Linked DNA regions of Homo sapiens: all the other regions are linked to region 3. The links are contacts of gene promoters, found by promoter capture Hi-C in blood cells and fetal thymus (Javierre and others, 2016). All regions are on one chromosome and are shown on one strand. The core of a region is centred on a gene start or on the middle of the fragment in contact, and the rest is flanking DNA. Distances in the headings are between cores, read along the strand shown. Region 1 overlaps CDR2 (cerebellar degeneration related protein 2). Region 2 holds the start of POLR3E (RNA polymerase III subunit E). Region 3 holds the start of LDAF1 (lipid droplet assembly factor 1). Region 4 overlaps SDR42E2 (short chain dehydrogenase/reductase family 42E, member 2). Region 5 has its middle 21 kb from the start of CDR2-DT. Region 6 holds the start of EEF2K (eukaryotic elongation factor 2 kinase). Region 7 overlaps LOC124903664 (a long non-coding RNA gene).

Region 1 (3,589 bases), core at 247-2,746, 1.2 Mb after region 3:
TTTTGTATTTTTATTAGAGACTGGGTTTCACCATGTTGGCCGGGCTGGTCTTGAACTCCTGACCTCAGGAGATCCACCTGACTCGGCCTGCCAAAGTGAAGGGATTACAGGCATGAGCCACCGTGCCAGGCCAGTACTGTAGTCTTCTAAGAATGGAAGGCTCTTGTGTATCTAGTCCATTCCTGACACACAGTAGGGGACAAAAAAATACTGGCGAACTGGCAGTTTCTAGACTTTTCTTCACAACAGCTTATTGTGCTTGGCATGACTCAGACTGTGAGATGTCAAGGGGGATTTAACTGAAAGGTTTTGAGAAGGGCTTTGGCTTTAGCCCTCTTGGGAAAACAGCCTATTAACCATGAATTCTCTCCCCGCTTTTCCATTTATAGATTATTTCTCTGTATTTATTCCCATGGCAGCAATTGCCCCGGTAATCTGAGGGGGAGACTTTTACAGTTCCTACCAGATACCAGATGGGTCTCAAGTTGTTGTTCTCTTACAGATAGGATGTTCAAGTTAGAGTTGTGGCCAACATACAGGAAACAAGTCAATATGCAAATAAGTACAAACAGGCCATTTAAGAAACTATAGAAAGTTCCTTGTTTGATATATAAAAACCTGTGATACCTGTGATAACAACATAATGAAACCATTTAAGAACTTGTGATATTTTGGTTTTAGATGACTTGGCTTTAACAACAATCTAAAGAATGTCAAGGAGCTTGTTTTCACATGGTAGGAGCTTAATCTTATTATATAAAACCAAAATTAATCAGAAAAGCCCTTCACTTCTCCAAGATTCAGTTATAGGGGACCTACAGAAGAGTCTGACAAAACCAGTCAGCAACTTAAAGAAAAATGATGAGCTCTCTAAGTACGTACTGATGTAAGGCCAGACATCTAGGTCTATGGAGTCAGTGCTTCATTTTTTTTCTGAATCTAGAAGGAAATGGGTTAGCTTATTTCCTACCTCTCATCTCAAGGTACAGACATGCTGCTGACATGCTGGTTTTCTCTTTGATACACAGCCTCCAATGAATCTGACTGCCATAGTAAACAGGAAAGGGAGACATTTAAAGCAAAACAGTGGGGGAAGGGGGTCATGGGGTAGCAGAAATGTGGGCAAAAATGTCAACTTATAGCAAAATGCCTTGGGTTTATCTCACTGTCTAGGAATTTGCACAGACTGTCACCTCAACTATGAGTACAAGGTTCCAGTTATGCACAAAAGCTACAAACAGGCCACCTTTACAATTAAGGTAAATCTTTAAAAAACAAAGGCCAGCAGAATTACATAAATACCTATTTGCAATTGTGGAATCCTAACCTGGAACGCAGGGAAAGATAGAAACAAACGACCCCAAGTAAAAATGCATAGAAATGGAGTGGAAATCTGGCTTGTAAGCAGTGTTGGGATTATCCTGAAATTAAGGATTACAGCCTAAATCCTCTGAATTTACTATCAAAATGAACTTCCACAATAATAAAGAAATATTTCCTATTACTTTTGAAAAATCTCTTTCCCCTGATGAAATATATTTCCCCTGTAGAAATTTGGTGGCGGGAGGCATGAACATGAAAATAGAAACCACCTATAATCCCATTATTAAAATTGTGGGATTAGATTGTTTTTAAAGTCTATTTCCAGTAATTCTGGAAGATTTATTTTTTCAGAATTTAAGTTCTTTCATGACTATAGTTAACAATATCTTATTGTATACTTCAAAATAGCTAGAAAAGATACGCAATATTCCCAACACAAAGAAATGATAAATGTTGGAGGTCATGGTTATCTCAGTTTAGATTTCATCATTACACATTGTATGCTTGTATCAAAACGTCACAGGCGCCCCAGATATATGTAAAGCTGTTATATATCCATACAAATTTTTAAAGACTTTTTTCACTACTAAAATTCTTTTTTTTTTTGAGACGGAGTCTCGCTTTTTTGCTCAGGCTGGACTGCAGTGGCGCAATCTTGGCTCACTGCAACCTCCACCTCCCGGGTTCAAGCAATTCTCTGCCTCAGCCTCCTGAGTAGCTGGGATTACAGGCGCCCGCCACCACGCCCAGCTAATTTTTCTATTTTTAGCAGAGATGGGGTTTCGCCATCTTGGCCAGGCTTATCTTGAACTCCTGACCTCGTGATCTACCTGCCTCAGCCTCCCAAAGTGCTGGGATTACAGGAGTGAGCCACCGCCACCGGCTCACTACTAAAATTCTTAAAACATTGGTAAACTATGCAACGATTTATACCGTTCAAAATATATATGCTTCCATAATCTCATCCCCTCAGAAAAATCCTATACCAAAGTAACAATTTATACTGTTCAAAATATATATGCCTCCATAATCTCATCCCCTCAGAAAACTCCTACACCAAAGCAGTGTAAGCATTATCACCATTCCATAACGGAGCAAAGAGAATCTGAGGGGTAATTCATATGTCTAAATTCTCTAGCTATTTGCAATTAAAATTGAGGGTTTAAACCTGAATCTCCTAAAACAGAGGCCAGAGCCCCTTCTGCCTGCCTTAAAAATCTCCAGAGGTGGAAACCCAAAGTTTAGGAGTTATTAGAAGAGCTTTGTAAGCTGTTTCTCCTCTGTTAAAATACTGATTTCAACAAAGTATTGATTACCTAGTATGTGTGAAAGACCATGAATAAACACAACAGTGCTCACTGTTGCAATGGGAAATAAGGGGAAAGGAAAATAAAGCAAATCAATTAAGTATCATATGCAGTAGAATATTGATACATGCAGTAAAAGCAGCACAAAATATTTTTCCATTTCCAAAGAGGGCATGAACTCTTGAAAGAAGGGATGCCTTGAAGGCCAGACTACTTTGAGTGCTAGGCACAACTCCTGTAGGGGATAATGCAGGTGTCTAAGCAGGGAAGTAACCAAAACACAAGGCTGTAGGCTGCTTACACGGTTGTAGCAAAGTGTAAATGAATCCAATGGTGTCTGATCTCATTACTCTCCCAAGTAAGAGTTCTCTCCTCCCCTCCTTCCACCCAGAACAGAAAAAACTTGCTCTGGATTCTTAAAAAATTATCTAAGTTTTTCAAATTAGCACTGAAAAAAAGTAAGACAGGCTACAGGCTTCTCTGAAGCCAGTTTAACCATTATTTTGAATAGTTTAATCTTTTTTCGTTTTCACATAAAAGGAAATTTTTGTTTTTTTCGTTTTTACATTAAAAATGATGCCTACCAAAAATACTGATCAATTTTTAGGAGGATTGTTTGAAACCCTCCAAGAGTCTTTGAAAGAATATTTGTGGTTCTACTTACAAAATACCCTTTGGCAGTGTCCAAGTTGTCTATTTCCATAATAAGTCAGAATCTTAGGGATCTTGTCCTAGTATTTTCACCAGTTCTCTGCACTATTTTTCATTCGCTCAGATGAGTTTGTTCCCAGACCATTCTTCTGGACTGTCTCATTTTAAATTTCACTGGTGGTGGGATAGGAGCTGACTTTTTGTTCTTCAACTATATATTTTTCTGAATTAAAAAAATGATCTTTTTTTTTTTTTTTTTTTTTTTTTTTTGAGACGGAGTTTCACTCTTTCGCCCAGACTGGAGTGAA
Region 2 (3,148 bases), core at 16-2,515, 1.1 Mb after region 3:
ATATAGTGTTTTAGTCCATTTTCTGTTGCTTATAACAGAATACCTGAAACTGGGTAATTTGTAAAGAAAAGGAAGTTATTTCTTACAGTTATGGAGTCTGAGAAGTCCAAGGTCAAGAGTGTGCATCTGGTGAGGGCCTTCTTGCTGGTGGGGGACACCTGCAGAGTTCCCAGGCAGTACAAGCCATCATATGGAGGGGGTGCTGAGCTGCTCCCTTGCTAGCTAAGGTCTCTCTCCCTCTTCTTATAAAGCCATCAGTCCCCCTCCCAAGATAACCCATTAATCCATTAACCCATTAATCCATGAATCCATGAAGAGATTAATCCATTCATAAGGGCTCCACCCTCATGATCTAATCACCTCTTAAAGGGCCCACCACACAATACTGCCACATTGGGGATTAAATTTCCAACACATGAAATTTGGGGGACACATTCAAACCATAGTTCATATTAAACAGATAATAATGGTTAGTTACCTCGGCGGAGGGGCCTAGGATGCGAGTCAAGGTCAAAGAGCATTTGTACCTTATCTGCAAAGTTTAAATATTTTGCAATAATTCGCGTGTTATTTGTGTAAGTAAAAATTTAAACATAATTTTTCAGAGACAACTGCCCAGACCAGCTCCAGGGTTTGGCCGTCAGATCCCCTGGTGCATGTTTCTGATCAGATCAATTTCTTCTCCCGGAGACACCCAATCCGGGTCGTATGGATTACCTGTGGGTTAACCAGGGGTCTCCGGGTTAACCATCCAACTCAGAGTAAAGTTTCTAAAAATGCGTTTTGCTCTAATACCTATTCGGAACCAACCTGGGTCTAAAGACTGGAGCAAGTGTTTATTTTCCAAAACACGGCTTTTTAAAATAATTCTATAGGGATCACCTTGAACACACGTTAAGCAAAAAAAAAACCTCAGCGAAAACGCCTCGCAATGTCCAGATTAAATGCAAAAGCAAAAGCATTAAGTAGCTTTCTGGCATAAACATATTGCAGCTGGGTAGCGTGGCCGAGCGGTCTAAGGCGCTGGATTAAGGCTCCAGTCTCTTCGGGGGCGTGGGTTCGAATCCCACCGCTGCCAGGGTTGCTGTCTTTTTGTCCCCGCTGCATACACTCCTGGCTCAGTTTTGCGCGTGCCATCAGCGCCCCCTGCTGCAGGGCGGGGCTCACGGCCTGCATGAATGGCGCGGCGGAGGGGGCGGAGCCGCGTGCACCGGGGCGGGGCATTGTGGGTAAGAGGAAACGCTGGGGCCGGCCCGCTCCCCCCCACGTGTCCGCCGGAGTTTCTCCACCAGCAACATGGCCGCCGCCTGAGAGGAGAGCCGGGCCGCCGCCGTCTCTGCAGCCCGCGGGTAACTGGGCCGTTGCCGCCGTCCGCGCTCGGCCCCCGCGGAGAGGTGAGTCCCGTCTTGGCAGTGCCCGAGCTGGGGCTTGAGCCGGACCGCACTCACGACGTGGGCCTGGGCTAGATTCCCGAGTAGGCCAAGGAGGCCCGCGCCGCGCTGTGCCTAGCAGCTGGAGGCCTCTCGGGACTCGGGCGGGGAGGAGGGGCAGCCGGCTCCAGGCCGACCCCGGACTCTGACTTCCTTGACCTGACACCTGGGAGTTGGGGAGGCCGCGGCCGACGCTGGCGGCGGTGACTCAGGGTCCAGCCGACCTGCCCTATCCGGGCCTGGGAGGCCTCCTACGGAAGAAACACCTGTCCGCGCGTCGGGTGTAGTGGCGGCTCGCGGCAGGGACTGCGTGGTGGGCGTGAGAAGGGGGGCCTGACCACCCGCGAGGGAGCAGAAACCCATTGGACAGCGAGGCTCGGGATCGGCGGCCCGCCCCGATGGGCAGGGAGGGCACCTGCGCCTGCCGGAGCCCCCACTTCGCAGCTGAACCGGATTAGCCTCTGCCCGGCGAGGCCAGGGATTCCTCATTCATTTATTCAGGCAACCATTCAGTGTTTACCGAGCCAACTCTGTGTTCCGGATACAGCCCTGACCATTCGGTCCGAGGAGGTGTCAGTAAACAAACAAGGTCGTTCCTTTGGGTTAGCTTTAGAATTCCTTGGGCTTGGAGGCGGAAAGAAGAGATCTTAGCGATCTCCACAGTTTCCTCATCTGTGAAATAGAGATAATAGAAATTCCTACCTCATAGGGTTGTGGTGACGGCTCAGTAGAAACCGGGTGACGCTCCTGCTTGCAGCGTTTGACTTGTGGCTTAGCGTCATTACCCGCTTACGTTGGCAGAAAACATGTTGTCAAGTAATAACAAACCTTCCCAGAGGTTACGTTTATTAGCGTCCTGTCCTTACTCCTTCCCCGCAGGGGTCTGGAGGTCGGTACTTAGTTTCCCTACTTTAGGGATGAAAATAGGGAGGAATACCAAACCCAGACAACTCAGGTGGGTCACAGATGCCAAGCAGCTGTGGTGGGATTTGAACCTGCACAGTTTTGTTCTCGGGTCCAAGCTCTTACCCACTTAACCATACTGCCGTTTATCAGAAAACCGTGCAGTATAGTGGTTAAGAATAAGAATAAGGATCTTTGACATAGCGAGACCCAAGTTTCTGTCCTCATTCCACCTTGGATGAGTTGCTTATATCTGAACCTCAGTCTCGTCATTTCCAAATTGAAGATGATAAATCTCTATTGATAGGGCTAATGAGAAGATTAAATATAAAGTATTCTTTGTACTATATTGAGTGTCAACTTCGTGCCAGGCACTGTTCTAGGTATTGAGAGAACCAGCACTGGATTTTTTTTTTAAAGTAATGCTCCCCATAACAGCTTTGATGAAGTAAAGTATGATTGTCTGCATTTCATAGTTGAGGAAACTGAAGCACTGAGAAGCCTTCATGGAGCTTACGTTCTATTGCAGAAGACAAACAACACCTGAGCAAATAGACCAGGTAGTTCCAGATTAAGATGAGACCCACCAAGGAAAGAAAACAGAGATGTGGTAGGGCCTGGGAGGAGGCTGGGGGAGGCTTTTAAAATAGGGTGGTCAGGGAACCTATCCTCTCCTGCAGGCGGTGATGATATTTAATAAAAAGGAGCAACCTTGGAAATCCCTGTGGGAGAATAGATGATGTGCAAAGGACCTGGGGTGGACTGGGGCTTGCCTTGTTGGAGGCCCAGCAAGTGGCTACCAGCCTGGATGGTGA
Region 3 (3,145 bases), core at 298-2,797:
CCTATCCCCACCATTAGCTCTTCTTTCTGCTATTGTGGAATTACAGCAGGATTCTGTGGTTTATCATATCATTGTCGTGATCATCATCATAAATCATCATCCCAAGCAAATATTTTTGAGCCCCTACTCTGTGCCTCAATAGGTGCTAAGTTCTCGACAGCCACAGCCACACTATTGCACCAGTCCTCACTACAACCCTGTGATTGCTTCTTTTTTTTTTTTTTTTTTTTTGAGACAGGGTCTCACTCTGTTGCCCAGGCTGGAGTGCAGTGTCTTCACTGCAACTTCTACTTCCCAGGTTCAAGCGATACTTCTGCCTCAGCCTCCCGAGTAGCTGGGATTACAGGTGCGCACCACCATGCCTGGCTAGTTTTTATATTTTTAGTAGAGATGGGGTTTCACCATGTTGGCCAGGCTGGTCTGGAACTCCTGGCCTCAAGTGATCTGCCCACCTCAGCCTCCCAAAGTGCTGGGATTATAGGTGTGAGCCACCGCACCCTGCCAGCTTTTTGTTATCTAAAGACTTATTTTCCAGGTTGCTATGGCCACAGGCAAAGAGGAGAGGTCGGTCAACACAGGTCCCTGTCTGGAAAGTGGCTGAGAACTGTGCAACAGCAGACCAATGGTTGGGCTTATCCCTCTCTCTAATTTATGGTTGAAGCCATGGTTCAGAGAGGTTACTTAGTCACACAGTAAGTTGCCATCATGCTCTATAGCAGTGGTTCTCACCTCGGGACGATGGGGCCTTCCAGGGGACATTTGGCAATATTTTGAGACACAACTGGAGGTGGGGGGGGGCGGTTCTTGTAACTGGCATCTAATGGGTAGAGGCTAGGATATTGCTAAACATTCTACAATCCACAGCTCAGAAACAGAATTATTCCGCCCCAAATGTCAATAGCATACTATTCAGAAACCTTACTCTATAGGGCAGATTTGGGGCCAGGGGAAACAGGGGCTCCTGCTCCGACTTGGATCCATGCAAACCGAGGAATTTGGATTGATTTATCTTGTCTCTCTCAGCCTGGACTTTTTCATGTGTAAAATGGACATCCAATCCATCTGAAAGGATCTCACTGGCTTATGACATTCGCATTTGAGCAGTCATGGTTAAAAACTTCCAGCCAGGGTGATACTTCATCACGTGTGTGTCTTGAGCGCCAGAGACGTTCCAGAGCAGCTGGTTTTAGGCATACAGGAGGGGAAACCCTGACACCCTTGGAAAACTCATTCTCGGCTGCCAGTCTGCCTGTCTTGAAGGTGGTCTGAGCTTTCTCACTCCAAGCCAGTCGTGTGGGAAGGGACACTCTCTGAGCCTCAGTTTCCTCAGCTGTCAACCTCTCAGGGCTTGTTCTAGTGGCTCCGAAAGCCAGTGGGAGCGAGCGCGCTTTGCAAAGCCTTGGGCGCCGGGCCTTGGCGCGCCTTTGCCGGATCCTTCCGGCCACGGGCGGGGCGAGCCCAGAGGAGAAGAGCCGAGGGGCGGTGCCCGGGCCAGGGGGCGGAGGCAGGCGGCTCTGGCTCCCTCTCGGGACGCTCTTTCCTTCTTCCTCTTGTTCCTCCTCCTGCCTCTCTTCGCTTCGCCTGCAAACGCGGTGGGGGCTGCTCGGCGGTCAGGAGCAGGTGAGAGCTCGGAGCTTGGGGGTGGGGGTCCGGGTGCCCCGGGTGGCTAGACCCCTCTCGCCGGGCGGGGACAGAGGAGGAGCGCGGGGGCGACGGCGTGAGCGCGCTATCGGGGTCCCACGCCCGTAGCTTTCTGCCCCGGGGTTAGTGTAAGGGGCGTCTCCTGCTTATGAGTCGCCGGGACGGGGCTGGGAGCGCACGAGGAGACACGATTCCTCCCCACCCCTAAATGCACACTCACCCCGCCACCCCCCAACACACACACACATACACACACACACTACCACTAGATTAGGTAAAATGGTAGCTAGCACCACCACACCCCGAGACTGTGCCCCTTTCTGGGGAACCTGGGGAAGACGTCGAGGCAAACCTCCCTAGGATTATTGAAAACGGGCGCCTTCCTCACCACCCAGCCCCTCTTCTCCACCGAGGTCCCCTTCCCCATCGCTGCAGAGAGATCTGCAAGTATCAAAGGGGGCTTCTTTACCCCCAAATTAATAACTAAGTACTCGACTCCCCTCTGAGTTCCCATTATTCAGTCTCTGTGCCTTCTGGGACGCGGACCCCCTCTCCACCTGCATTTCACTCCCTTCCTCCTCTCCTTGGGTCTCCCTGGCTTTTGAACGCTGAAAGGCTGGGCCCGGATGGGGAGGGGCGGCCAGTGTGAGCTCGAGGCGCCCTGTAGCTCCCATCCCCCAACCAGAGATGTGACCCCTCCTCCCAGCTTGAACTTTCGAGGTAGCCGTTTTCCCCTGGAGGTTCGGGGGTGGGAGGGCCAGGAGATTTATTTGGAGCCTTGGAAGGGGAAAGGGTTAGCTGGTGTTGGCCTGGCCCAGTCCCCCAGGCGTGAAGAAGGCGGGGCACTCCTTGGCCGCGCCGGGTTCTCGCTTTCCCTTCTCGGGAGACAGCTCCGTGCCTGGGGAGGCCCCTCCGAGGAGTGAGTGACCAGGGGGTCTGGGAATTGGTGGCCAGGTAGACGCATTTGAAGGCTGTGGCCGATGGCATTCGCCCCACGCACTCTCTCATCGGACTCCCCAAACCGGTCTGGGTGGCACTTGAGGCTCCCAGGCCAAAGGAGACCTGTAAGGGGAACTCCGCTTGTTTCTGCTTGCTGCAGAGATGAGATTATGGGAACTGAGTGCTGGGAACATCCCAAGTTCAAGACCTACGCCAGAGGCAGCTTCAAAGAGAGAATGTGGGGTGGTGGGATTAGTCCCCTCCTCAACTTTCCCCTCCAAAGGGTTTCTTGTTTTACAAAAGGGAAGTAGCAGAGGATGTCTAGCTGGGATGATTAAAATGTGCTTTAATTTGCATACTAGACCCTGTACAGCTTAGTAGTAGATAAAATTACCCCCTATATGATAAATAAATGTGAGGATCTCTCAATTAATTTTGGCCACGTGGACACAATCTTTTAAGCATTTGTACTGTAGGTCAGGTCAGTTTAAAGGGAGAAATGGAAAAGATATCTCTGTGTCCAGCCAGTTCTGGGAAATATAAAATAAGAATGATTTTTTTTTTA
Region 4 (3,561 bases), core at 678-3,177, 1.0 Mb after region 3:
TTGAGACCAGCCTGGGCAACATAGCAAGACCTCATCTCTACAAAAAATTTTAAAATTAGCCAGGCAAGGTGGTGCATGCCTTTAGTCCCAGCTCAGGTGGGGGATTACTTGAGCCCAGGAGTTCAAGGCTGCAGATTGCACCACTGTACTCCAGCCTAGGCAACAGATGGAGATCCTGCCCCTAAAAACCAAAAAAAAAAAAAAAGATTCTCCCCCCTCAGCCTTCTAAATAGCTGAGATTACAGGCATGCACCACCATGCCTGGCTCAGAATACTATTCTCATAATAATGATGATGCAGGTTTATATTTGCTTAGTTAAAAGAGAGGATGTTTTCATCACAGATTGTAAATAGCAAAGTAATCGGTGGTATTTGAGGTTATTTGCAAAAATCCTTCCAGTCCAGTCGGGCACGGTGGCTCACACTTGTTCCCAGCACTTTGGGAGGCTGAGGCGGGTGGATAACCTGAGGTCAGGAGTTTGAGACCAGCCTGGCCAACGCAGTGAAATCCTGTCTCTACTAAAAATACAAAAATTAGCTGGGTGTGGTGGCACATACCTGTAGTCCCAGCTACTCGGGATGCTGAGGCAGAAGAGTCGCTTGAACCTGGAAGGTGGAGGTTGCAGTGTGCTGAGACCACACCATTGTACTCCAGCCTGGGTGACAGCACAAGACTCCATCTAAAAAAAAAAAAAAAATTACTTCCAGTCCACTCTCGTTTTATTGTCTCTGATGCCCTGCTAAGTTAAAAAGGTCAAAAAAAAATCGTGATCTCCATTTTATGATGAAAAATTGAGCACTAGGAAAATTATTTGTCCAAGGCCACACCATACTGGAATTGGCTTCAGACTCCATGTTCAGTGCTCTTTAACAAGGGGAGTCAGAGGGGGAGAGTGGAGAATGGGCCACAGAAAGAAGTAGTCACCTATGGCTTCTCCTTTGAGCCATCCGGATCAGTGGAGGAGAGAATAAGATGATACTGACAATCTCTTGAGTTGTGACAGTATGCCAGGCACTGTGCTTTATCTCATTTAACTGAGTTGTAGACAACATTGTCCTCTCCATTTAGAGAGGAGGAAATGAGACACACAGTGAAATAACCTGCCCGTGATCACTCACTTAAATGGTAGAGCTGGGATTTGAACCCAGACCTCAGTGATTTCAAGCTTAACCATTAGCTTGTGAAAATGCATCAGGAATCACATCCACATAAAATAGCTGCCAGGGTGCAGCTGAATTGTGGTCAGGCAGGGACTTGGCTCCTCTCCCTCTTGTTTAACTTGGGGATTTCCTTGTTCAGCTCAGGGGCAATGTCCTTAACTGTGGAAGTTCCTTGGCTGTGGCTCGGGTACCCTCTGCTGGTCAATCTGTGACACATCAACCAGCCCTCCAGTTTGACTTTATAGCCTTTTATGCATTTAACATAAATGTTACCAGGCACTGTGCTGAGCAACGGAGGCAAGAAGACATAGTCCTTGCCCTTAGGGAGCTCCTAGTTCAAAGGGGAAGACAGCCCACTAACCAGGCAACTCAACACTGTAATTAGAGCCATTCTTGGGAAAATCGCGAGAAACTCCAGTGCACACAGAAGGGGCGCCTCAGCCAACTCTGAGGAAGTCAGAGAAAGCTTCCCAGAGGTGACATCTAGAGACATCTAGGTGTATTAGGGACCCTGCTTATCTAGCGTAACTCAACTCCTGTGCTCCCCAAAGCCCTGCACTTACTGACTAGGAAAAAAAGGGACAAATACTGGCCTCTCTCCTCACCCCCCATTAAGCATCCAAGACCACAGGTTTGACCCCAGGGGCTGTTTCAATGCCATGGGAGAATCCAGCAGCTGGTGGATTCTTCCCCAGGGTCCGGCTGAGGAAAAAGAGAGGAAGAAATGAGTCAGGTGGGAGAACATCTCCAGGTGCCAGCACAGCAGAGAAGAAATTAGGCTAGAACCTGGCTCCCCTGTGCGACCCCAGGCAAGTCACTCAACCTCTCTGACCTTTTTCCAAGTATGCACAGAACAGATAGTGCTAGTACCACCTGAGAGGATTAAATGAGGTAGGGCATAGAAAGGATTTAGTCCAGGCCAAATGCAGGGTGTGTGTTCCTTAACTGCTGATAGCTATCATTACTACCCTTCAAACCAGTGGGCCCCAAGCCATCTGGCAGCAGGGGAAACACAGCTTAGACCCTGGAGAGCAATCAGTTCTGCATAATCGAATTCCTCTCTTAGGGAAGCTTAGTTAATAAGCGAGGGCATGAAGGCTGCGACTGGGGCCCTCCTGGTCACAGTTGGTCTGGGGTTGGGGGCAGGAAGCCAAGGTCGTTTCCTGCAGATGTTTCTGGCAGGCGTTCACCTTCTCCTAGCGGATGCCTAAGAATGTATCAAGGGCCTCCTGAGTCCCAGCACCGTGCTAGGCCGGGAAGATGAGTGTAGGGGTGAGACCTTTGCTTCTTAGGGACCAAGGAGTTAAATAGGGTGCGAATTCAGCGGGGCTGGAGGGGGCGACGCAAAGGCGGCACCCTCCAATAAAAATGAACATGTAAGGAAGAAAGGAAGACCTCTCTAATGAGGGCATCGCAGGAGCAAGACGCTGCACTCGGGTCCTTTTAAATCACTATGTAATGGAGGGGAAATCCCTGCCCTCTCTTTTCCCTTTCCGTAAACAACGAAGTAGAGGATGTCCTCCTCCCACGAGGCCCGCCCTCGGATGCCCCGCCTGTCCCCGCAGGTGCGCAGCGTGGCCGTGACGCACACCTTCCAGATAGCCAAGGCCCGCGCCCAGCTCGGCTACGCGCCGGATAAGTTTAGGTTCGCCGACGCCGTGGAGCTATACGTGCAGTCCACGACCCGGCGGCCCCGCGGCTCCACGGCGCGGACCCTCCTGCGCCTGCTGCTCAGGCTGCTGCTGTTCCTCGGCTTGCTCGCCCTGGCCCTGCACTTCCTAGGCCTGCAGCCTCTGCACGCCGCCGTGGAGCGCCTGTGACCGTCCGCCGTCCGCCGCCCGCTAGGGTCGGCCCCGCTGCACCCTCGCCCACGCCCGGCTCCCTGGGCTTGTACCAGCCCCTGCCCCGCCTTCTGGGTTTGAGCGCGCCTCCGCTCCGCCCCTTGAATCCTGGTCACGCCCCCGAGCCGCTCTCCAGACCTAGCCCGGACCGCCGACTTCTGGCCACGCCCCTATCTACTCCCAGACCTTGCCTTGCGCCCTTCCTGTGTTTTGGCCCCGCCCCTGTCCTGTCCCGCCCCGCCCTCCGAAGTGGGCACGCTCCTGCTCCGCCCCCTGAATCCTGGCCACGTCCCTGGTCGGCCCAGACGCGTAGCCCCGAGTCTCTTTCCATGTTTTGACCACGCCCTTGACCCGCCCTTCAAATTGGGCACGCCTTCTTCCCCGCTCACTGATTTCCTGGCCTAGCCCCTGAGCAGACCTCCAGACCTAGCCCCGCCCCCGTTTTATAACCCCGCCCCTGCTTCACGGCTTGGGCACGCCTCTTCCCCGCCCCCTGACTTCAGAGCCTAGTCCTGAGCCGCTCTCCAGGCCTAACCCCGCCTTCATGTCATAGCCACGC
Region 5 (3,331 bases), core at 221-2,720, 1.2 Mb after region 3:
CATGGAATGTTTTTCCATTTGTGTCATATATGATTTTTTTCAGCAGTGTTTTATAGTTCTCCTTGTAGAGATCTTTCACCTCCTTGGTGAGATGAATTCCTAGGTATGTTAATTTTTTCTGTGGCTACTGTAAATAGGATCGCATTCTTGATTTGGTTCTCAGCTTGAACATTATTCATGTAAAGAAATGCCACAGATTTTTGTACATTGATTTTGTATCCTGAAACTTTACTGAAGTCATTTATCAGTTCCAGGAGTCCTTTGGTGGAGTCTTTAGGGTTTTCTATGTATAGAATCATATTGTCACCAAAGACAGATAGTTTGACTTCTTCTCTTCCTATTTGGATGTAATTTCTTTCTTTCTTTTGCTTGATTGCTCTGGCCAGGACTTCCTTCTTTCATCTCTTGATGGACATTTGGGTTGGATCTGGTTTTTGGCTGTTACAAATAAAGCTATGAGCATTTTGTGTCTTTGTATGGATATATGCTTTCCTTGCTCTTGAGTAAATACCTAGGAGTAGAATGGCTGGGTTGTATGGAAGGTAGATGTTTACCTTTCTCTTTACTTTTTTTTTCCTTTTTTTGTTTGAGACAGAGTCTCATTCTGTCGCCCAGGCTGGAGTGCAATGGCGCAATCTCGGCTCACTGCAAGCTCCGCCTCCTGGGTTCATGCCATTCTCCTGCCTCAGCCTCTCGAGTAGCTGAGACTACAGGCTCCCGCCACCACGCCTGGCTAATTTTTTGTATTTTTATTAGAGATGGGGTTTCACCATGTTAGCCAGGATGGTCTCGATCTCCTGACCTCGTGATCCGCCTGCCTCGGCCTCCCAAAGTGCTGGGATTACAGGCGTGAGCCACCACGCCTGGCCGGTATGTAGTATCTTACTGTGTTTTTGATTTACATTTTCCTAATGACTACTAATGATGTTGAGCATCTTTTCATATGCTTACTTGCCATCCATGTATCTTTTTGGTTATTTATTAAAATAATTTGTGTCTTTTTAAATTGAGTAATTAGTCTTCATATTATTGAGTTGTAGGAGTTATTTGTATATTCTAGGCACATGTCTTTTGTCAGATATATGATCAGTAAATACTTTCTCTTAGTCTCTCTTGGTTACTAGTTGTTAAGAGAAGTATAGCCAAAAGATTTTAACAGTCATTTTTCTTAAGCCCTCACAAAAACATAGGACTTTCTATTGATCTCAATAAAAAATTATTATAAAATGGAAATCCAGGTCTGGCCCAATGGCTAACACCTGTAATTCCAGCACTTTGGGAGGCTGAGGCAGGAGGATTGCTTGAAGCCAGGAGTTTGGGACCAGCCTGGGCAACACAGCGAAACCCTGTCTCTACAAAAAATAAAAGAAAATCCAAAGTTGCTTGAAATTTATTCTTAATTTCTAGAGAATTAACACGTGTAAATTATTGTGGTAAAAAATGACAGCTTGGCCAGGCGTGGTGGCTCACGCCTGTAATCCCAGCACTTTGGGAGGCTGAGGTGGGTGGATCATGAGGTCAGGAGTTCAAGACCAGCCTGCCAAGATGGTGAAACACTGTCTCTACTAAAAATACAAAAAATTAGCCGGGCGTGGTGGTGGGTGTCAGTAATCCCAGCTAGTTGGGAGGCTGAGGCAGAGAATTACTTGAACCTGGGAGGTGGAGGTTGCAGTTAGCCGAGACGGTGCCACTGCACTCCAGCCTGGGTGACAGACTCTGCCTCAGACAAAAAAAAAAAATAATGACAGCTCATTGGAATCTGTTGTTCTTGTTATTCATTTGGCTAAGTCTCTTTAACACTTTATTGGATAAAATAATGAAGGGTGAGCACTATGTTTTCATTTTCTCTTTCTCTCTCCGTCCTCCCTCCCTCCCTTTCTCCCTTCCTCTTTCTTTCTTTCTTTCTTCTTTCTTTCTTTCTTTCTTCTTTCTTTCTTTCCTTTTCTTTCTTTCTTACCTTTTCTTTCCTTTTCTTTCTTTCTTTTCTTTCTCTCTCTCTCTTTTTCTTGAGACAGTCTCTCTCTCTCTCTCTCTCTCTCTTTTTCTTGAGACAGTCTCGCTCTGCCACCCAGGCTGGAGTGTGATGGCATGGTCTCAGCTCACTGCAATCTCCGCCTCCCAGATTCAAGCAATTCTCCTGCCTCAACCTCCCAAGTAGCTGGGATTACGGGCATGTGCCACCATGCCTGGCTAATTTTTGTATTTTTAGTAGAAATGGGGTTTCACCATGTTGGCCAGGCTCGTCTCCCAACTACTGACCTCAAGTGATCCACCTGCCTCGGCCTTCCAAAGTGCTGGGATTACAGGCGTGAGCCACCGCACCCAGCCCTCAGGCTGGTTTTCTTTTTGAGGAGTTGAATAAATAAAGGAGAAAAGGATGAATAAATACTCTGTCTCCCTAATAACTGTTGGTATAGGTCTGTCACTCTTCCATATTACACTCCCCAGAGAGGCAGAGGAGTAACTGGGTTAAGAGCATGGATCTGCAGTCTGCCCAGGAGGAGCCTGGCTCTCCACTTACTAGCTGTGCAATCCTAGGTAAGTTACTCAACCTCTCTGTGCCTTAGTTTCCTCATCTGTAAAATGAGGATCAAAATAGTACCTACTGGTCTGGGCACAATGGCTCCCAGTACTTTGGGAGGCTAAGGTGGGAGGGTCACTTGAGCCCAGGAGTTTAAGACCACCCTGGGCAACATAGCGAGACCCTGTCTCTATAAAAAATTTAAAAAAATAGCCAGACATAGTGGCACACACCTGGAGTCCCAGCTACTTGGGAGGCTGAGGTGGGAAAATCGCTTGAGCCCAGGAGGTCAAAGCTGCAGGGAGCCGTGATTGTGCCACTGCACTCCAGCCTGGGTGACAGAGCAAGACCCTGTCTTAAAAAACAACAAAAAAATAGTGCCTACCTAAGGAAATTATTATGAGGGTTAAATGAATTAAAACATCCAAAGTACTTAAAACGGTTCCTGGCACAAAATAAACCCTCTAGAAATGTTAGCTCTTATTATGTACAGCCAACTCAGTGCAGCAGGTATCTATTAGACTTTCACTGTGAGCACAGCACTGCCTTTATCCCTCTGTCTTGATGTAGGCTCCTTTGCCACAGGTTTGCCAACACTTATGTTGGAACACACTGTTGAATGGGGAGCCAAAATCTTTCATCTGTAGAAGGCTTTATTTTAGTTAAAAAAAAAAAAAAAGGCGGTCTTTCTCTTTTCTTTCATGATTTTTGTGATACTACTCATCATTGGCTTATATCTTTTTATATATTGGACACAAGAAAAATAGCTACCAATTATTAAGTGCCTTATATGTTGAGTATGGTGCTAGG
Region 6 (3,233 bases), core at 685-3,184, 1.0 Mb after region 3:
TTTTTTTTTTAATGTTTTATTTTAGAGACAGGGGTCTTGCTATGTTGCCCAGGATGGTTTTGAACTCCTGGCCCCATTGATCCTCCTGCCTTGGCCTCCCAAAGCTCTGACATTACATGTGTGAGCCACCTTGCCCGGCCTTGAGTAATTTTATTTTACCGCAGTAGACATCTCCTTGAAGGCAAATGTTTCCCCCAATTCCTAGCACCATATTTGGCACACAATAGGAGCTTAATAAAATTTGCCATAAGAATTAATGCTCAGAAACTCTACTATTACATCCTATCTGCTCAACTCCCTGGAAAAGAGACATTCTCTTTTTATGGTTACTATAAAAGGCCCAGATTAGTATTTCACTGGCCTAACTTGGATCACATGCTCATCCCTGAACCAATCAATGAGGCTGAAGGGATGAAATATGCTAATTGGCCAGGTCTGGTCATGTGTCCATTTTTGGAGCCAGGGGAGTGGGGAGGGCTATTTTCCTGAACTGAAATAGGGTGAACTGGTTCCCTGAAGACTAACCAAGACGCTAATGCAAAGAAGGACACTCCTGCTGGGCAGACAAAAATGACAGAGGCTCAGAGAAGTAAAATAACTTGCCCAAGGGCCATAGAGCTTTAAGCAGTAGCGTCTTTTTTTTTTTTCCAATCTTGCTTTGGGCTTGGACAGACTAGTTCAGCATCTTTGATCTTCCCTTCCTGCCTGACGGCCCCAGGGTCAGAATTCCAGGTGCAATTTTGTCTTGCCAAAAGCTGGAGTTTACTCTCTTTGGGGTTTATAAATAAGGAAAAAAGTTCTTTGGAGAGCCTGAACTTTGAAATCAGAGAAGTCTGGATTTACTGCTGGCTCTGCCTTTTCTAGCTGCCTCACCTGGGGCATGTCATTATCTCTATAAGCCTCAGTTTTGTTCTTTTTTCTTTTTTATTTTTTTGTTTTTGTTTTTTTGCGACGGAGTCTCATTCCTTCACCCAGGCTGGAGTGTAGTGGCGCGATCTCGGCTCACTGCAACCTCTGCCTCCAGGGTTCAAGCGATTCTCGTGCCTCAGCCTCCAGAGTAGCTGGGACTACAGGCGCGCCCGGCTGCTTTTTTGTATTTTTACTAAAGACAGGGTTTTACCGTTTTGGCCAGGCTGGTCTCGAACTCCTGACCTCAGGTGATCTGCCGGCCTCGGCCTCCCAAAGTGCTGGGAAGATGGAATGAGAGAAATCCCTCAAAACATGTCATTGTTACTACTTTTCTATCTAGAATGTGTGAAATTTCTAAAATTTCACTAACAAAGTATCTGGAAGGACCTAATATTAAAGTGTTCACAGTAGCTATTAGTTTTAATTCGTTTTCTTTTTTATACCTTAGCCACTCTACCACTCATGCCACAGGTATTTATTAAGCATCTACTGTGTGCCACCCAGGCCCTGTGTCAAGAGTTAGGAATAACTAAAGGAGATACTAATTTTAAAACTACACAAATAATTGCAATCGTCATACGTGCCTGTTTTTACAAAGCAGAAATCAGGAAAAACAAAGTATTTCCGATAAAAAATATTTTAAGGTTATGGATAGAGATACATACAAACAAGCGATGGGCTTGGATCACTAATGATTTTGGAAAGGACAGGAATACAGGAACTAAGCGAGAAGCAGGCGAGAATGGCGAGGCGCGGCGGGAGAGGACGGAAGTTGGTCACTCCCTCGAATTGCCCCCTCGCTGCCGGATGCTAGGCCAGCCTTGAGCAGGAGAACCGGACACTGTGTACTCAGCAGGGGGAGCCAAGACTTAGCGCTAACCATTGCACCTGGGGCTGGGAGCCAGCGCCGGAGCCAGGAGGCCCGCTAGGCGGCTGCAGGCGCTGTGATGGCCACCTGGGGGCGGCCACGTGAGCGCCACGCCGTGCGCCCGCCAGGCCAGCCCCGCCCCTGCCCGCCCGCTTCTGCTCAACCTAGACCAGCCCCAGCTTCAGCCTCAGCTCCCCTCCTTCCTGGATCGAGCGCCCGCACTCCCGGCCCTGCAGCCACCCGAGTCCCGCTCGCTGTCGCCTGCACGCGAGTCCCCCCTGGCACGCGCTCCCACATCCCGGGATCGTCCCAACGGCCCCTGCGCCCTTCCTGGGATCACTCCGACTGCCCCGCGCGCCCTGGGATCGGTCCATCTACCCCGCGTGGCCCCAGCTGCTTGCCCGGAGCGCCAGCTAGCGCTCCCCGCTCTCCGCTCCCCGGCACTCTCGGGGGGCCCGCCCGCCCTGCACCCTGGAGCTCCGGGCCGCGAGCCTCTGCCAACTCCTCTGGACCCTCGCGGCCGTGGGCAGCGGCTGCCGCGCCTGTCTGCCCGAGGGAGGTAGGTGTGGACCGCGGCCGGCAAGGCTGTGGGGGGCTGGGAGCCCGCGCTGCAGGCCTGTGCGCCCGGGTGCAGCTGGCGTCTGGAGCGTGCTGGGTCTGGGCTTGGGAATGGGGCCGGAGAAGGCATGGAAGGAGAGTGTGGGGGCGCTTCTCCTCTGGTTGTTAAACTCTCTGGGGCTAAGTGCTTGCTTTGGAGAAATGGGGAAGTTGTGCGGATTAAAGGCGATGTGGATATGGAAAGCAATTGGCAAGCAATGGGCGGTGATCTGGCTGCAAGTGACAGAGAGTTTGGGGGCCTCCCCCCTCGGGGCCCCTAGAGTGTGGGCGCATCGCTGCCTTCCTGTCCCCTGCAGGGCTCAGAGCCGCATCCCCCACCTTTCCCCTGAACTAGAGGCCTGCGTCAGCCCGAATTCCCGGAACCTCCAGGACTGTATAGACGCGCCCTTGCTGCATTGTTGGCTGCGGGAGTTTGTTGGCAGGCGCTGCTGACATGTGTGCCAAGGGGCTGGGCATTAATAAGCCGGTGGCCGCGCGGGGGTGGGGGCCTCCCGGGTAAGCCCCGGCCTAGATCCTTTTGCGCGCGCCTGGGGGATTTCGGGGAACCAGCCCAGCTGCGCCCTGAGTGTGACAGATGGGCCGCATGGGGAAGTGAGATCTGCCCAGGGGGACGGTCCCAGGGAGCCCGACCTCTGGGACCTCGGTGGTGGGTGCTTCTTCAGCCAGGAAAGCAGGAAACACTAGGGCTGGAGTCCTGGGTTGGAATTCTAGCTCATTTATGCTCTCTGGCCCTCGGTTTTCTCATCGGTAAAATGGGTACAGTATTAGTATCTACCACTTAGTATCCTTGGAAAGAGTAGATGAGTATGTATATGTCAGGTGCTTGGAACAGTGCCTG
Region 7 (3,415 bases), core at 365-2,864, 1.2 Mb after region 3:
AAATGGACCTACCATATACAGGAGATTCCATCCAACAGCAGAATACACATTCTTCTCGAGCATACATGGAATATTCTCCAGGACAGATCATATATTAGGGCGGTATCTTTTCTGACCACAATGGTATGAAACTAGAAATCAGTAACAGGAGGAATTTCAGAAAATTTACAAATACGTGGAAATTAAACATGCTCCTGAACAACAAATAGGCCAATGAAAAAAACTAAAAGGAAAAATTTTAAAAATATCTTGAGACAAAAATGGACACAAAACATGAAATACAACAAAAGCAGCTCTGAGACAGAAGTTTATAGCAATCCCCACCCACATCAGAAAGAAAAGACTTCAGATAAACAACCCAATGTTACACCTCAAGGCACCAGGAAAATAAAAAGAACTAGGCCCAGTTAATAAAAGGAAATAGGCCAGGTGAGGTGGCTCACACCTGTAATCCCAGCACTTTGGGAGGCCAAGGTGGGCAGATCACCTGAGGTCAGGGGTTTGAGACTAGCCTGACCAACATGGAAAAACCCCATCTCTACTAAAAATGCAAAAAAATTAGCCATGTATGGTGACACGCTCCTATAGTCCCAGCTACTCGGGAGGCTGAGGCAGAAGAATCGCTTGAACCTGGGAGACGGAGGTTGCAGTGAGATGAGATTACGCTACTGCACTCCAGCCTGGGTAACAGAGCAAGACTCCATCTCAAAAATACATACATATATACATAAATGGAAATAATAAAGACCAGAGCAAGACTACGTCTCAAAAATAAATAAAAGAAAGGAAATAGTAAAGACCAGAGCTGAAAAAAATGAAAAGATCAACAAAATTCAGTTGGTTTCTTGAAAAGATAAAATTGACAAACTTCTAGCTAAGAAAAAATAGAGAAGACTCTCATAGAATTAGAAATGGAAAAAGATAATCCCAGCACTTTGGGAGGCCAAGGCAGGTGGATCACCTGAGGTCAGGAGTTTGAGATCAGCCTGGTCAATATGGTGAACCCCATCTCTACTAAAAAATACAAAAATTTGCTGGGCATGGTGGCAGGCACCTGTAATCCCAGCTACTTGGGAGGCTGAGGTAGGAGAATCACTTGAGCCTGGGAAGGGAATGTTGTAGTGAGCTGAGATCCCACCACTGCACTCCAGCTTGGGCGATAAGAGTGAGACCTTGTAAGAAAGAAAGAAAGAAAGGAAAGAAGGGAGAGGGAGAAGGGAAGACATTACAACTGATTCCATAGAAATACAAAGGATCAGGCCAGGCACGGTGGCTCATGCCTGTAATCCCAGCACTTTGGGAGGCCAAGGTGGGCGGATCACTTGAGGTCAGGAGTTTGAGACCACCCTGGTCAAAGTGGTGAAACCCTGTCTCTACTAAAAATACAAAAAATTAGCCAGGCATGCTAGCAGGTTCCTGTAATCCCAGCTACTTGGGAGGCTGAGGCAGGAGAATCACTTGAACCCGGGAGGCAGAAGTTGCAGTGAGCCAAGACCATGCCATTGCACTCTAGCCTAGGCAACATGAGCAAAACTCCATCTCGAAAAAAAAAAATTAGCTGGGTGTGGTGGTACATGCCTGTAATCTCAGCTACTTGGGAGGCTTAGGTGGGAGAATTGCTGGAACCCGTGAGATGGAAGTTGCAGTGAGCCAAGATCACGCCACTACACACTCCAACCTGGGAGACAGAGCAAGACTCTCTGTCTCAAAAAAAAAAAAAAAAAAAAAAAAAAGAGAAAAGAAAAGAAATACAAAGGATCCTAAGAGACTACCATAAAAAATTACCAGCAAACTGGATAACCTACAAGAAATGGATGAGTTCCTAGACACATACAGCCTACCAAGACTGAATCACAAAGACACCGAAAATCTGACCAATGAGTAAGAAGGTTGAATCAATAATTTTAAAAAGTCTGCCATCAAAGAAAAGCCCAGGACCTGGTGGCATCATTGCCGAATTCAACTAAACATTTATGGAAAACTACTACCTATCTTTCTGAAACTTCCAAAAATTTGATGAAGAGGAATACTTTCAAACTAATTTTACAAGGCCAGCACTACCCTGATATCAAATCCAGACAAGGACACTATAAGAAAAGAAAATTAGGCCGAGCACAGTGGCTCATGCCTGTAATCCCAACACTGCGAGGCCAAGATGGGCAGATCACCTGAGGTCAGGAGTTTGAGAACATCCTGGCCAAAATGGTGAAACCCCGTCTCTACTAAAAATTAACCGAGAGTGGTGGCGCATGCCTGTAATACCAGCTACTCAGGAAGCTGAGGCCGGAGAATCGCTAGAACCTGGGTGGCGGAGGTTGCAGTGAGCCAAGATCGCGCCACTGCACTCCAGCCTGGGCGACAGAGCGAGACTCCACCTAAAAATATAAAGAAAGAAAGAAAGAAAGAAAATAAAAGCAAATTAGACCAATATCCTTATATCCTTGATGAACACAGCTGCAAAAACCTCACCAGAACTAGCAAACCAAATTCAGCACATTAAAAGGCTCATTCACCAGGATCAAGTGGGATTTATCCCAGTCTGGGCAATATAGCAAAACCCCATCTCTGCAAAAAAAAAAAAAAAAAAAAATTTTTTTTTTTTAATTAGCCAGGTGTGGTGCTGTGTGCCTATTGTCCCAGCTGCTTGGAAAGCTGAGGCAGGAGGACTGCTTGAGCCCAGGAGTTTGAGACTGCAGTGAGCTATGACCACCACTGCACTCCAGCCTGAGTGACAGAGTGAGACCCTGTCTCCAAAACAAAGTTGGATTTATCCCTGGGATGCAAGGATGGTTCAATGGTTCAACATATGCAAATCAATAATTGTGATACACCACATTAACAGAATGAAGGACAAAAACCATATAATCTTCTCAATAGATGCAGAAAAAGCATCTGAAAATTAACAACCATTCATGATTAAAAAATCAACAAACTAAGTATAGAAGGAATGCCCACTCTTACCTCTTCCATTCAACAAAACACTGGAAGTCCTAACTATAGCAATTGCACAGGAAAAATAAAAGGCTGGTGGCTCACGCCTGTCATCCCAGCACTTTGGGAGGCCGAGGCAGGCGGATCACCTGAGGTCAGGGGTTCGAGACCAGCCTGGCAAACATGGTGAAACCCCCACTCTACTAAAAATACAAAAATTGGCCAGGTGTGGTGGTGATAAGCCTGTAATCCCAGTTACTTGGGAGGCTGACGCAGGAGAATTGCTTGAACCCAGAAGGCAGAGGTTGCAGTGCGCTGAGATTGCGCCACTGCACTCCAGCCTGGGAGACAGAGTGAGACTCTGGAGAAAAAAAAAAAAAAAAAGGCATCCAAATCAGAAAGAAAGAAGTCAAATTGTTCCTGCTTGCAGATGACATGATTTTATACATAGAAAATGTGTGTATCTACATGCAAAAGAATGAAG

The links. The method cuts DNA at HindIII sites, captures the fragments that hold promoters and counts their contacts. A CHiCAGO score of 5 or more calls a contact.
Region 1: a contact is called between a fragment that was not itself captured here and the fragment with the promoter of LDAF1 in region 3, in 7 of 17 cell types (erythroblasts, total B cells, M0 macrophages and 4 more). The highest score is 18.0, in erythroblasts.
Region 2: a contact is called between the fragment with the promoter of POLR3E here and the fragment with the promoter of LDAF1 in region 3, in 8 of 17 cell types (M2 macrophages, M0 macrophages, endothelial precursors and 5 more). The highest score is 15.8, in M2 macrophages.
Region 4: a fragment that was not itself captured here is called in contact with the fragment with the promoter of LDAF1 in region 3 in 1 of 17 cell types (fetal thymus); the score reaches 5.8 in fetal thymus.
Region 5: a fragment that was not itself captured here is called in contact with the fragment with the promoter of LDAF1 in region 3 in 5 of 17 cell types (erythroblasts, M2 macrophages, M0 macrophages and 2 more); the score reaches 10.9 in erythroblasts.
Region 6: a contact is called between the fragment with the promoter of EEF2K here and the fragment with the promoter of LDAF1 in region 3, in 5 of 17 cell types (erythroblasts, fetal thymus, monocytes and 2 more). The highest score is 12.3, in erythroblasts.
Region 7: a fragment that was not itself captured here is called in contact with the fragment with the promoter of LDAF1 in region 3 in 9 of 17 cell types (erythroblasts, total B cells, fetal thymus and 6 more); the score reaches 17.6 in erythroblasts.

The regions. Positions count from the first base shown.
Region 1 is chr16:22,357,217-22,360,805 of GRCh38, forward strand. All of the region lies in intron 2 of CDR2 (cerebellar degeneration related protein 2), which reads right to left. Among named protein-coding and RNA genes, the nearest start is that of CDR2, 16 kb to the right of the region's middle. RefSeq lists an enhancer at 55-134 and a silencer at 1,005-1,074. The HindIII fragment of the contact is 9,749 bases long and covers 1-3,589 here.
Region 2 is chr16:22,296,144-22,299,291 of GRCh38, forward strand. POLR3E (RNA polymerase III subunit E) reads left to right here and starts at 1,266. Exons shown (of 21, transcript NM_018119.4): 1 at 1,266-1,394. TRL-AAG2-4 (tRNA-Leu (anticodon AAG) 2-4) reads left to right here and starts at 997; the gene lies at 997-1,078. RefSeq lists silencers at 887-1,336, 2,347-2,486 and enhancers at 1,010-1,554, 1,997-2,136. The HindIII fragment of the contact is 19,375 bases long and covers 1-3,148 here.
Region 3 is chr16:21,157,127-21,160,271 of GRCh38, forward strand. LDAF1 (lipid droplet assembly factor 1) reads left to right here and starts at 1,548. Exons shown (of 5, transcript NM_001301771.2): 1 at 1,548-1,620. It also overlaps a transcript of DNAH3 not described here. RefSeq lists silencers at 1,428-1,557, 1,608-1,787 and enhancers at 2,045-2,545, 2,680-2,829. The HindIII fragment of the contact is 5,830 bases long and covers 1-3,145 here.
Region 4 is chr16:22,187,413-22,190,973 of GRCh38, forward strand. It overlaps SDR42E2 (short chain dehydrogenase/reductase family 42E, member 2), which reads left to right. Exons shown (of 13, transcript NM_001394319.2): 13 at 2,727-3,561. The coding sequence ends at 2,981. It overlaps LOC124903666 (a long non-coding RNA gene), which reads right to left and starts at 600. Exons shown (of 2, transcript XR_007065028.1): 1 at 559-600. RefSeq lists silencers at 2,725-2,814, 2,905-2,954, 3,095-3,194 and an enhancer at 2,900-3,399. The HindIII fragment of the contact is 605 bases long and covers 1,626-2,230 here.
Region 5 is chr16:22,394,179-22,397,509 of GRCh38, forward strand. It overlaps the pseudogene SLC68A2P. Among named protein-coding and RNA genes, the nearest start is that of CDR2-DT, 21 kb to the left of the region's middle. The HindIII fragment of the contact is 7,194 bases long and covers 1-3,331 here.
Region 6 is chr16:22,204,344-22,207,576 of GRCh38, forward strand. EEF2K (eukaryotic elongation factor 2 kinase) reads left to right here and starts at 1,935. Exons shown (of 18, transcript NM_013302.5): 1 at 1,935-2,336. RefSeq lists silencers at 1,706-2,005, 2,166-2,435. The HindIII fragment of the contact is 13,136 bases long and covers 1-3,233 here.
Region 7 is chr16:22,338,352-22,341,766 of GRCh38, forward strand. LOC124903664 (a long non-coding RNA gene) reads right to left here. Exons shown (of 2, transcript XR_007065026.1): 2 at 1-131. Among named protein-coding and RNA genes, the nearest start is that of CDR2, 35 kb to the right of the region's middle. The HindIII fragment of the contact is 4,639 bases long and covers 1-3,415 here.